4 separate regions of the Homo sapiens genome follow, and regions 1, 3 and 4 are each linked to region 2. The links are contacts of gene promoters, found by promoter capture Hi-C in blood cells and fetal thymus (Javierre and others, 2016). All regions are on one chromosome and are shown on one strand. The core of a region is centred on a gene start or on the middle of the fragment in contact, and the rest is flanking DNA. Distances in the headings are between cores, read along the strand shown. Region 1 overlaps RGS5 (regulator of G protein signaling 5). Region 2 holds the start of RGS4 (regulator of G protein signaling 4). Region 3 overlaps LOC127814295 (a long non-coding RNA gene). Region 4 has its middle 50 kb from the start of CCDC190.

Region 1 (3,416 bases), core at 127-2,626, 130 kb before region 2:
CCTATAATCCTCGCACTTTGGGAGGCTAAGGCAGGAAGATCCCTTGAGGACAGGAGTTTGAGGCTGCAGTGAGTCATATTGCACCACTGTACCCCAACCTGGGTAACAGAGCAAGAGCCTGTCTCTAAAAATCAATTAATTAATTAATTTAACATAAAAATAAAGTTTGGGAGGAATGAAGAATCAAATAATGAAAAATAATCAAGGACCCAGCCCTGTGCTGAAACCACTGGGCCATGGCAGAAGCAACCTGCTCAGTGATTCTAATGCTGATTTATAAGAAAGCAATTATAAGAATAATTTGCTTCCTGTAAGGGGAATTGTTTTTGACAGCAACTCTTTATTAGCAAAGAATATAAAATAAACTTTTTTTTAAACAACAAAAAGAGAAGTTTTTTTCCATAAGATTAAAGGGTGGAATATATATAATGGGTAAGGATATCCAAAAATCTGCCGCATAAAGTAAGAAAATTTCAACAATTAACAAAGATTAACTTTTCCATGACATGTAAGGAGAAATCTAATCCTAGAAAATATTCCTTTCTGAATGTCCAGGGAAGCTTTCAGCCAAAGTCAACTTTGATATATTTGTATAAACTATTCTTTATTTATTTAGATTTTTAAGACTATTGCTTATTGAAATTTTAAGTAGGACTCGCATACTTTTATATGTTTAAAGAGGCAAATAATTCAAACATTTGGGCAATGAATAACCATAAGCACAGAGTTTCTACCCTCTGGCATATTGAAACCTGTACTATATGGGTGAGAATCTTATACTGTCAATGAAAAAGAAAAGAGTCGCGTCAATTTAATACCTTATTTTTACCCATGATTTTCAAGTTTGAATTTTAGGCTTCTTTTGAAAATTTATTTTATTTTCAGAGTCTGTTGAATTTCTCTAAACAAGTTTAAATTTTAAAGTAAATATTGCTCTTTGGGAAAAGATGAATGTATTATGAAACAAAAAATGTTACTATTGGCCAGGCACATTACTCCTGCCTGTAATCCCAGCACTTTGGGAGGCCAAGGTGGGAGGATCACTTGAGGCCAGGAGTTTAAGGGCAGCCTGGGCAACACAGGGAGACCCTGTCTCTAAAAACAAACAAACAAACAACAACAAAAAATAAATAAATAAAAACACCACAAATATTAGCCAGGCACAGTGGATAGCACCTGTAGTGCCAGCTATTCAGGAGCTGAGGTGAGAGGACTGCTTGAGCCCAGGAGTCTGAGGCTATAGTGAGCTATGATTGCTACTATTGCACTCCAGCCTGGGTGCAGAGTGAGACCCCATCTCTGAAAAAAGAGGATTATTTTAAAAAACTGATAATACTAATAATTGAACTGGTTGCTTTATGTTATGATGACAACTTTGATTTTTAGGCTTAAAACTGTGTGCTTATGGTTATTCATTGCCCAAAAGTTTGGATTATTTGTTTCTTTAAATATATAAAAGTATATGAGGCCTCCTTAAAATTTTAATGAGCAATAGTCTCAAAAATCTAAATATCATCATAATATAAAGGAACCAGTGCAGTTATTAGTATTTTAAAGAGCTACAAGCCCTTTGCTACTCTGGGTGACTGGCATAGATCTGATTTCTGTTTCAGACTGAGAAGGGCTAAGGGTATAATGTGTTTAATCCACAGTTCACACAGGGGCTTTTGGCCATCTCAAGGGTGTGTCAATGCTAGGAATTTCAGAAGCCATAGGAAGTAAATGGGAAAGGTAATTTTCAAACATTTATTATTTTTAAATTTATTTTAAATTTTTGTTTTTAAAAATTTTGTTTTTAAAATGTATTATTATTTTACAAAACAATCATTTTTTTCCCCATGTTCTCTGATTTATGTGGGTCAAGTGTGGACAATTTAGAATAGAAAGGCAGCTAATAAGCAGGACTACTAATGAACTAATCTGAGGTTGTTAAACCTTTAAAAGCACTAGAGTGAGTCAAGGTTCCTGGGTTTTCAGGATTAATAAATTCAAAGGCATAAGCACATCCTTGGGCTAATTGTAGAGAAAAGGCAAGCACCAAGTGAATTAAAGACTGGCAATTAGCTTGAACAACTGATAGCTCAATTGGAATGAATTGAGGACCATCAAAGAAACCTGAGAGAGGTCCTAGCAGAGCTTCTGGTTGGGTTTAGGATCATGCTTGCTGAGAATAAGTATGAATTTCAAGCTTACTATACCTGATATTCTAGAGATGTCATTGAAAGCATTGTAGTGAAACTTTAGAATGTTAAGAAAGTGAATGAACTATTTAATAAAATTTGGAGGGGGATCACTAAGAAAAACATTTATTTTGATTCCTACTGATGAAACAATATCAGTGATTTCTCTAGATTGCCTTTCAAACCTGTGTACTTGCCTTAGGCATATGGATGAAAGACCCATGCCCTGCTCCCATGGAAATTTAAGCCCAGTTAGGGAGATAAATAAGAAAAAATTAATGCTCAGTGTTGCAATCCACTACGAAGGAATATATCCATAAAGTGCCAAGAAGCACAGAAGTTGGGGTGGTAGGCGGGGCCCCTAGAGCTTTTAGTGGGCAGGGAAGAATTTACAAGGTTATACGGATGATGCTTGAAGAAAGTCTAAGAGGACAGAGGAGTTAGCCAGGTCTAGACAGGAAGAGGAGAGAGAAGGAAGGCCATCTAGGTGAAGGGGACAGGCCTGTGTGTGCAGAGACCCAGAGATGGGCGGGCACAGCCAATTTGGCTGATGTTGTGACATCTATGTACAACCTGTATTATCTCTCAGAGGCCAGCAAGGAGGGAAACCGCTGAGTTTCTAACCACAGTTAACCTCCTGGGCAGCAAGTCCTGCATATGGTTCTCTGGGAACTTCTCCAGTGCTCATCTGTTCCCAACTCTGAGGATGGAAGAGATTTATTCAGGGGAAAGATAGTCCTCCCCTTCACCTAAATGATTTTATTACTAAAAGGATAGACTGTATTTGGTATAGTAGACACCAAATAAACATTTTGTTGAAGGAATACATGAATGAAGTTACAGCAAATAGAGACAAGAGCACTTCTAGGACAGCTTGGTATTTCCTCTGCTTTCCTTGGGTATTGGGGAGACCAAGAACAGTATCAGTGTTGACATTTTAGGCCACAATCGGAAAAAGAGTGTGTGTTGCTAAATAAAGAGAGGTGCCTGCTATGGGAGAAGGGGAGTGGGGATTAGGAGAAAAAGAAAAGTGAAGGAGACTGTCTGCATTTCTATAATGAGGAAAGCCTTGTTAAAGAGGTGAGTCTTCTTTTGGCTGCAATGATGGTATCCCTTAGGTGAGCTCTAGGAAGTTGTACTGCCTGGGCTGTTCCTCATGCAGTTACTGTTGAAGCTTCTTTAGTGAATTGCATTCTGTATTCCAGCTAGTTGCCCCTTTCTATTCTTTCTTTCATT
Region 2 (3,273 bases), core at 311-2,810:
ACCTTGAGAAGGCAATGGCTCCTCTGGAGCCTCAGGCACTGGTGGTAAAGATGTTGGACTAGATGATTTGCAATTTATTGAGGAGGAAAGGGAAGAGCAGTTCATCCTGCTGACATAGAGTTTACCTCCTTAGATTAGCTGCTTAACTCTTTGAGGACAGAGCTCTAGTATTATCTTTTATCTGTTTTGCAAAATATTTACCAGAGCATAACTTTCTCCTGACACTCTTGTATTTTTGTACGGTTCATTTCATATGCAAGTTAAGTGAAGCTTGAAGTAATTTGCTCCACTCCATTCAGAAAATTAAGCGTGAAGGTCAGAGGAACTTATTTCATAGATACTCTCTGCCAGACCCTCCTGCTTCATTTTAAAGAAGCCATCGATACTTCCATACTCCTGAATGACAGAATATTTGGAAAGTAAATGTTTTAATAGTACATAAAAAATTATGTTTTCTGAGATTATTTCCAAAATAAAATTTGTGGTAATTTCTATTTGCAGTGCGATAAGAAAGCAGGTAGTATACCTTTAGGTTGACTTTTTACCTTTGACTGCAAGATTAAGTAATGTAATATGCACTCATTTTGTGTTTAATTTTCAACTGGCTAATATATGATCTTTCTCTGAATGCATTTCTTTATACCTTTTTTGAACAAACCAAAAACAAATGAATAGCTGTATGTCTGTAAGGTCTTTTAAAAAAATCAAGGGAGTATATTAACAAAACAATGTCTTTAAGATGAGATCTTCTACAAAACTATTAACTGATTTGTAATGATCAATATTTCTCAACCAAACTCATATGAGACACTTCAAGAACTAGAGATGGGGCAGAGAGATAAGGAAGATCTGGCTTTAAAACTCATATCTCATTGTAACATTTGCTTATAAGAACATAGAGAGTGAAAGTTACTGCACCACCACACGGAAAGCATAGTGCCTTTCTGATGATGGAGCCAAACCTCATTCTGGGGTACCTTTCCTGAAACAAGTTGTAGCATACAATCAGAAAGCCCAGAGCCAGGCTTCTATGTACTCCAGGGATGCTCAAATAGCAGTAGTAATCACAGATGGAGATATTACAGATCACTGTACATAGCCTCAAACCTCATCTCGCTTCTTAATTAAAACTAGCTTTCTTAGACCTGGCTTAAAGAATAGAACAGTTCTCAAAACTGAGGTCACACAAAACAACACATAAGGGCTGAAATTTGGGGAGCACATGTCTTAAGTCACAATATCTAGCTAGTCTTGGAGGAAAGTTAGAAAGTCGTGCTCTCCTGACCACACTGTTTCTAATTGCACAGAACTAGGTTAGTAAGTACAACATGTAAATAACTGAGAAAGTCTAGCCAAAAGTTTAATATGGTTAATGGCTGAAAGCAATCTTACCTCCTCAAGCAAGAAGCCGGCAGACCTGCAAGCCCTTTGCACATCTTATTTAACAGCTTGGAATTCGCAAGCAGGAAAGAAATGCGGCAGGAGGAGCTGTGGCTTCGGCTTTGAGCGTACTTTGCCTCTTCTCCGGTAAAGATATTGTCAGAATCCTCTGAGCGTCTTCCTGCTAAGCCTGTAGGGGTCTCTTTTATAGCCCAGCTACGACCGTCCAGCCAATCAGACGACCGCTCTGCAGTACCAGCTCCTCTGTCTCCCTCTGCCTCTCCAGCCCCTGAAAGAGATGAGGAAGAAAAGACTGACGCATCAGCAATGTTAAGTGAACGAGCAGAGAAAATCCTTCTGAAAAGTAGGGATATGGGAAAAAATGTACTCAATGTCTCCACCAATGTCAGAGGTTTAGAATTTCTAGAAAAGGAAAAAAAGTGTACAATGCTGCAAAATATAGTTTTTATTCATATGCCTGTAAAAAAAAAATATCAAGGAAGTTGCTTCCTGGAAGGAAAAGTACCAGCAGGAATTCTGGAGCTTACTTAGGAGCTGACTCCCAATGCCTTTCCTCTTTTGGATTAGAAGCATCATATTATACATGGTCCAAGATCTGATCCTCACGATTTCCAAAAGGGAGCTGGCAGGATCATCGTCTCCACGCAGTGATTTGCGGAAGTTGCCTTGGTTGTTATGCAAACAAGAAGGTGGAGAGAAATAGCTGGATGACAGACAGTTATAAGCCCGGCAGCATACAGAAACTACCCTAGGAAAAATAGATTTGCTATATCTGTAATCAACCTGACTGAGGAATACTTTTCTAGAAATCTTGGTAACAACAGAATTCAGCCTAGCACTGACAGTTTCTCCTTCACATGCCTGCGTCCTGTAAAAAGTCTAAACCGGCAGCTCGAGGACCAAAGGAGGGAGTAGATGAGCAAATATACACAGCAATTCTTATATCAAATGGGTTTATGTCTTATGTAATTCTAAGTCTCCAAACTGATATTTCAAAAGATAAAGAAAGAGAGATGTAGAGAGAAAGAGAGAGAGCAGGCAGAAAAATATGTAGTTTGCTTTGCGTATCACCAGCCTTCAAACTGATTGTAAGAATATTAAGCCCTATAGGTGTTTCTGAACACCTAGACAATCAGTATCTTTTACATACAATATCATGAACTGAAATGCCTGCATGGACAGAATCATTCAGGTGTTTCACATCTTATAGCCATAAACCAAATACCTACACCAGAGTTACAGAGGAAAGCTATAAGTGGAAGAAGGGAATTAATTGCTAGATCTGACCAAAACAGCTTTCATTTAGAAAGCAGATAGGTTCCTGATCATAGGCTACAGTGAGCTATACTTTATATATAAGAAACAGAGGCATCAAATAGTTTAGGTGGAAGAGATGAAAAATAGTTGGGTTCCAGTGAGATGCAAAATACCAAAAATATAGAAAGAATGGCACAAAGCAATGCCCATATGTGGCCCTACCCAATACGTGCCCTTGAACATCCCACACTGCCCCCACTACCAACACGTTCCATGACTAGCAGAGCAAGGAGACAGCAGACAAATGTAAAGTGGTGGAGGGACCATAATCTACAGAAGATGCATTTAAATTATAGGAAAAAGTCTCTAGCCGCCCATAAGAGGGCATTTATTGGATTAGCTACTGGGCAACTTTTCCTTGAATTATAACATAGAACAAATGAATGTTGACAGCCATCCTTGATGGTGGTGTGGAAGGAACTGAAGTGCAATATGAAACTAGGAAGGCCCTCAGACCAAGGAAGATGGACCAGGGAAATGAATCAGTCAGAACTGACATTAAAGAGGTCAGACTAATTAAAAGGGAAAGAAGGTCACTCAAAGAAAGACCATGGC
Region 3 (3,154 bases), core at 581-3,080, 220 kb before region 2:
TAAGCCCCAGACTTTGGCAGCTCCCATGTGGTGTTGGGCCTGTGGGTACACAGAAGACAAGAGCTGAGCTTTGGGAGCCTCTGCCTAGATTTCAAAGGATGTATGGAAACACCTGGATATCCTGACAGAAGTCTGCTGCAGGGGCAGCCCTCATGGAGAACCTCTACTAGGGCAATGCAGAAAGGAAATGGGGGGTTGGAGTCCCCACACAGAGTCCCCACTGGGGCACTGCCTAGTGGAGCTGTGAAAAGAAGGCCACCATCCTCCAGCCCCCAGAATGGTAGATCCACTGACATCTTGCCCTGTACACCTGAAAAAGCCACAGGCACTCAATGCCAGCCCATGGAAAGCAGCTGTGGGGGCTATACTCTGCAGAGCCACAGAGGCAGAGCTGCCCAAGGCCTTGGGAGGCCACTCCTTGTATCACTGTGCCCTGGATGTGAGACATGGAGCCAAAGGAGATTATTTTGGAGCTTTAAGCTTTAATGAGTGCCCTGCCAGGTTTCAGACTTATAAACAAAGTGCCTGTGGCCCCTTTGTTTTGGCCAGTTTTACCTATTTGGAACAGAAACATTTACCCAATGTCTGTACCTCCATTGTATCTTGGAAGTAGCTAATTTGTTTTTGATTTTACAGGCTCGTAGTTGGAAGGGACTTCCCTTATCTCTGATGAGACTTTGGACTTAGACTTTTGGGTTAATGCTGGAATGAGTTAAGACTTTGGCAGGCTGTTGGGAAGGCATAATTGTGTTTTGAAATGTGAAAAGGACATGAGATTTGGGAGGGGCCAGGGGCAGAATGATATGGTTTGTCTCTGTGTCCCCACCCAAATCTCATCTCAAATTGTAATTCAAATTTTAACCCCTAAGTGTCAAGGAAGGGACCTGGTGGGAGGTTACTGGATCATGGGGACAGTTTCCCCTTTGCTGTTATCATGATAGTGAGTTCTCACAAGATCTGATAGTTTAAAAGTGTGGCACTTCCTCCCCTCGCTCTTTCTCCTGCCACCATGTCAGATGTGCCTTGCTTCTCCTTCATCTTCTGGAATGATTGTAAGTTTCCTGAGGACTTCCCAGTCATGTGGAACTGTGAGTCAATTAAGCCTCTTTTATTTATAAATACCCAGTCTTAGGTAGTTCTTTATAGCAGTGTGAAAATGAACAAATACACCTTGCTTACACCACATACAAAACTCAACCTGAGATGGATTAAAGACTTAAATGTAAAACTCCAAACTATAAAAACCGTAGAAGACAACCCAGGCAATACCATTCAGGCATAGACAGTGGCAAAGATTTCTTGATGAAGACACCAAAAGCAATTACAACAAAGCAAAAATTGACAAATGGGATCTAATTAAACTAAAGAGCTTCTGCACAGCAAAGGAAACTATCAACAGAGTAAACAGACAACCTACAGAATAGGAGAAAATTTTTGCAATCTATCCATTCGACAAAGGTCTAATATCCAGCATCCATAAGGAACTTAAACAAATTTACCAGAAAACCAAAAAACCCCATTAAAAAGTGAGCAAAGGACATGAACAAAAACATCTCAAAAGAAGACATACATGCAGCCAACAAACACATGAAGAAAAGCTCAATACCACTGATCATTAGAGAAATGCCAATCAAAAGCACATTGAGATACCATCTCACACCAGTCAGGATGGCTATTACTAAAAAGCCAAAAAACAGCAGATGTTGGTGAGGTTGTGGAGAAAAACAAATGCTTTTACATTGTTCTTGGGAGTGTAAATTAGTTCAACCATGGTAGAAAACAGTGTGGTGACTTCTTAAAGACCTAGAGGCATAAATACCATTTGACCCAGCAATCCCATTACTGGTATATACCCAAAGGAATATAAATCATTCTATTATAAAGATGCATGCATGTGTGTGTTCATTGCATCACTATTCACAATAGCAAAAACATGGAATCAACCTAAATGCCCATCAATGATAGACTGGATAAAGAAAATGTGGTACATATACACCACGGAATACTATGCAGCCATGAAAAGGAATGAGATCATGTCTTTTGCAGGGACATGGATGGAGTTGGAGGCCATTATTCTTAGTAAACTAACGCAAGAACAGAAAACCAAATACCACATGTTCTCACTTACAAGTGGGAGCTAAATGATGAGAATGCATGGATATATGTTGGAGAACAGTACACACTGGGGCCTGTCAGAGGGTGGGGGGTAGAAGAGAGAGAAGATAAGGTAGAGTAGCTAATGGATGCTCGGCTTAATACCTGGGTGATGGGATGATCTGTGCAGCAAACCATCATGGCACATGTTTACCTGTGTAACAAGGCTGCACATCCTTCATATGTACCCCTGAACTTAAAAGTTGAAAATTAAAAAAAAAATCATTTCTATTTGGGCTTGAAAAGTAATTATATTGGCACATCTATGCCTTTTATCCCAACGAGTTCTTCCTGCCCACTGCACAAACAGAATCAATTGCCACAGAGATCATGTCATTGCAGTGAAGAAAAATTTAATTAACACAAGTCTGGCCACACCGCTCAGGAAATGGAGTTATTACTCAAATCAATCTCCTCAAAGACTTGGAGAGTTTTTCAAAGACAGCTTGGTGAGCAAGTGGCTAGGCTATGGGGAGTGCTGATTGGTTGGGTCAGAGATGAAATCATAGGGAGTCTAAGCTGGCCTCTTTCACTGAGCCACTTCTGGGTGGGGCCACAGGAGTGGTTGGTGCATCCAGATGGAACTATCGGTTGTCAGACATGCAAAAAAACTGAAATGCTATCTCAAAAGGCCAATCTTAGATTCTATAATAGTGATGTTACCTGCTGAAGTAATTGGGGAAGTTGCATATCTTGTGACCTCTAGAATCATGGCCGGCTGTCATTTATATCTACACATTAGCAGAATTCTGGCTCCTCTCCCTTCCTAGCCTGGTAGTCTGTCATTAACTTCACAAAGGTGGTTGAGTTTGGGGTAAGTACTATTACCACTTAAACTATAAACTAAATGGCTCCCAAAGTTAGCTTGCCATAAACCCAGGAATACTTAAGGGCAGCTTGAAGGGTAAAGGCATGATGGGGTTGGCTAGATAGATACCCCCCTGCCCGCCGCCATAATTTTCTCACTGTTACAATTTTTGCAAACGCAAAACTTCACAAC
Region 4 (3,175 bases), core at 272-2,771, 160 kb after region 2:
AAAAAAAGAAGAAGAAAGAAACATCTACTACATGGGCTCAACAGCAAATCTGAGCAGCCAGAAGAAAAAAAAACAAAAAAACAATTAACTTGAAGATGGGTCAATTGAGATTAACCAGTCTGAAGAACAGGAAAAAAAGAATAAGGAAAATGAACAGTCTAAGAAACCTGTGGGATAGCATCAAGTTCATTGACATACACAAAAGAAGAGCAGAACGAAAAAAGGAAAGAAAGGATATCTGAAGAAATAATGGCTGAAAACTTCCCAGATTTTGATGAAAACCATTAATCTACACATCCAAGAAACTCAACATACTCCAAATAAGATAAACATCAAGGAATCCATATGTCATAATCAAACTGTCAAATGACTGAAATAATTTTGAAAGCAGCAAGAGAGAAGTGACTTTTCACATACACAAGAGATTCTCAATAAGATTAACAACTGATTTCTCATCAGAAACAATGGGGAATAGAAGGCAATGAGATGACATATTCAAAGTGCTGACAGATTTTTAAAAAAAAAAAAGACAAAACTATTAAACAGGAACTCTATATCCAGCAGACCAGTAAAGGTGTTTTTCAAAAATGCAGGAGAAATTAAAACATTTGTAAATAAATAAAAACAAGAGAATTTATTATTAGCACACCTGCCCTACCAAAAAACACTGAAGTGTTTCCTTTAGGCTGAAATGAGAGGATGCTAGACAGTAGCTTGTTTGTTTGTTTGTTTGTTTGTTTGTTTGTTTGTTTTTCCCCAAGACTGAGTCTTGCTCTGTTGCCCAGGCTGGAGTGCAGTGGCATGATCTCTGCTCACTGCAACCTTCACCTCCCAGGTTCAAGCAATTCTCCTGCCTCAGCCTCCTAAGTAGCTGGAATTACAGAGACCTGCCACCACGCCAGGCTAATTTTTGTATTTTTAGTAGAGTTGGGGTTTCACCATGTTAGCCAGGCTGGTCTCGAACCCCTGACCTCATGATCTGCCCACCTCAGCCTTCAAAAGTGCTGGGATTACAGGCGTGAGCCACTGCGCCCGGCTGACAGTAGTTTTAATCCACATGCAGAAATAAAATACTAGTAAGGTAACTACATAAGCAAATATAAAACACAGTATAAGTCTATCTTTTGTTTGTAGCTCTTTTTTCTTCCATTTGACTTAAAAGTCAATTGCGTAAAGAAATAATTATAAATCTATACTGACAGTCAAATAATACATAAAAATACAAATTGTAGAACAATAACATCACAAAGGAACAAGGAGAGATTGGAGCTATATATATTATATACTGTCTCAACTAAATTGGTATTAATCCAAACTAAATTATTAAAAAGAATATGTTCATTGTAATCCCCAGGACAACCACTAAGAGAATAACTCAAAAAAATAGTAAACATTGATAAGGGAATTAAAATGGTACACTAGAAAGTATCTAGTTAATAGAAAAGAAGACAGTAATGGAGTAACAAACAAAAAAAGACATGTAGAAAATGAAGACTGTCAGATTTAAATCCTTTACCAGTAACTATATAAACTATAATGCATTAATCATAATTAATAAGTATAATAATTATATAAAATATAAATGCATTAAGCACTTAAAAGAGATTGAAAGAGATTGGCAGAACAAATTTTTAAATGATTCAACTATTTGTTGTCTAGAGAAAAACACTTCAGATTCAGAGACACAAATAGGTTGAAAGTAAAAGACTCAAAAAAGATGTATCATACAACAAGTAATCAAAAGAGAGTAGAGTGACTGAGCTAATCCAAACAAAATAGACTTTAAGAAAAAATTGTTACTGAAGACTTTCTTCCTCCTGACACCAGATATGTAGTCTTTTGCAATAACACTTCTTCAACTCTCAAACAACTAAGTGTCCTATAATTCAATTTAGTTCTGACACCAACTGCACAGAATTAGCATTAGACTTCACAGGTTTGAGAGCTCAGTCCCACAAAACTGCCCTCACTTTAGACACTAGCCATAGATCCTCAGATTACCCAGACTTCTTTCTGACATGGCTACAAATCTGGGGTTCCTCATAACCTCCCCCATGGCCTCACATTCAGCTCAGTTTTGATAATTTGCCAGAACAACTCACAGAACTCAGTAAAGTGTTTTTACTTGCTATTCACCAATTATTACAAAGGAGACACATCGGAACAAAGAATACAACTTTTTGAGGCATGAAAGAGAAACACAGGACAGGGTATGGAGAGGGGAGGCACAGAGCTTCCATGCCACACTGGGCATGCAAATTTCTCAGCTTCTTGATGTGTTCACTAATCTGGAAACTCTCTGAACCTCATCATTTAGAATAGCTTATGGAGGTTTCATTACATAGGCACGACTGATTAAATCATAGTCTGTGATTAAATTGCTATTGATGATTAACTCAGTCTCTAGTCCTTCTTTTCTCCCTGGAGTTTGGAGTATGGGGCTGAAACTTCTAAAACTTGGCTTTTCTGGAGACCAGCTCCCTTCCTGAAGCTATCTAGTGGCCTTCCAAGAAGAGTCACCTCATTAGAACAAAAGACAGTTCAAAATCCATATCGCTTAAAGAATTCCAAGAGTCTTAGAAGCTCTGTGCCAGAAACTGGGGACAAAGGCTAAACATCTTTCTTATTATGCCACAGGGACCCTTTATAATAATAAAAATCAACTCATCAAGTGGAGATAACAATCATAAACACCAATAAACTTAGCTACTGTAGCAAAAACTATAGAATTAAAGAGCAAAATAGGCACAATTCAATGATAATAGATATTTGAATACCCCACTTTCTTTTTTTTTTTTTTTTTTTGAGATGGAGTGTCACTCTGGCACCCAGGCTGGAGTGCAGTGGCACGTTCTCAGCTCACTGCAAGCTCCACCTCCCAGGTTCACACCATTCTCCTGCCTCAGCCTCCCAAGTAGCTGGGACTACAGGCGCCCACTACCACGCCCGGCTAATTTTTTGTATTTTTAGTAGAGACGGGGTTTCACCGTGTTAGCCAGGATGGTCTTGATCTCCTGACCTCGTGATCCGCCCACCTCAGCCTCCTAAAGTGCAGGGATTACAGGCGTGAGCCACCACGCCGGGCCTGAATACCCCACTTTCAATAACGGATAGAACAAGCAGAAAGAAAACCAACAAGGAAATAGAATACTTGAACACTTACATAAACCAACAA

Evidence for each region. Contacts are between HindIII fragments. The CHiCAGO score rates a contact against its expected background, and 5 or more counts as called.
Region 1: a fragment that was not itself captured here is called in contact with the fragment with the promoter of RGS4 in region 2 in 1 of 17 cell types (endothelial precursors); the score reaches 5.1 in endothelial precursors.
Region 3: a fragment that was not itself captured here is called in contact with the fragment with the promoter of RGS4 in region 2 in 1 of 17 cell types (endothelial precursors); the score reaches 5.8 in endothelial precursors.
Region 4: a contact is called between a fragment that was not itself captured here and the fragment with the promoter of RGS4 in region 2, in 1 of 17 cell types (endothelial precursors). The highest score is 8.2, in endothelial precursors.

What each region holds. Positions count from the first base shown.
Region 1 is chr1:163,196,534-163,199,949 of GRCh38, reverse strand. All of the region lies in intron 1 of RGS5 (regulator of G protein signaling 5), which reads left to right. The region is part of intron 2 of RGS5-AS1 (RGS5 antisense RNA 1); the gene reads right to left. Among named protein-coding and RNA genes, the nearest start is that of RGS5, 4.7 kb to the left of the region's middle. The HindIII fragment of the contact is 1,628 bases long and covers 563-2,190 here.
Region 2 is chr1:163,067,648-163,070,920 of GRCh38, reverse strand. RGS4 (regulator of G protein signaling 4) reads right to left here and starts at 1,560. Exons shown (of 5, transcript NM_005613.6): 1 at 1,393-1,560. The coding sequence starts at 1,436. The HindIII fragment of the contact is 6,604 bases long and covers 273-3,273 here.
Region 3 is chr1:163,291,224-163,294,377 of GRCh38, reverse strand. The region is part of intron 3 of LOC127814295 (a long non-coding RNA gene); the gene reads left to right. It also overlaps a transcript of RGS5 not described here. Among named protein-coding and RNA genes, the nearest start is that of NUF2, 29 kb to the left of the region's middle. The HindIII fragment of the contact is 2,695 bases long and covers 483-3,154 here.
Region 4 is chr1:162,909,513-162,912,687 of GRCh38, reverse strand. No RefSeq gene overlaps it. Among named protein-coding and RNA genes, the nearest start is that of CCDC190, 50 kb to the right of the region's middle. The HindIII fragment of the contact is 5,166 bases long and covers 1-3,175 here.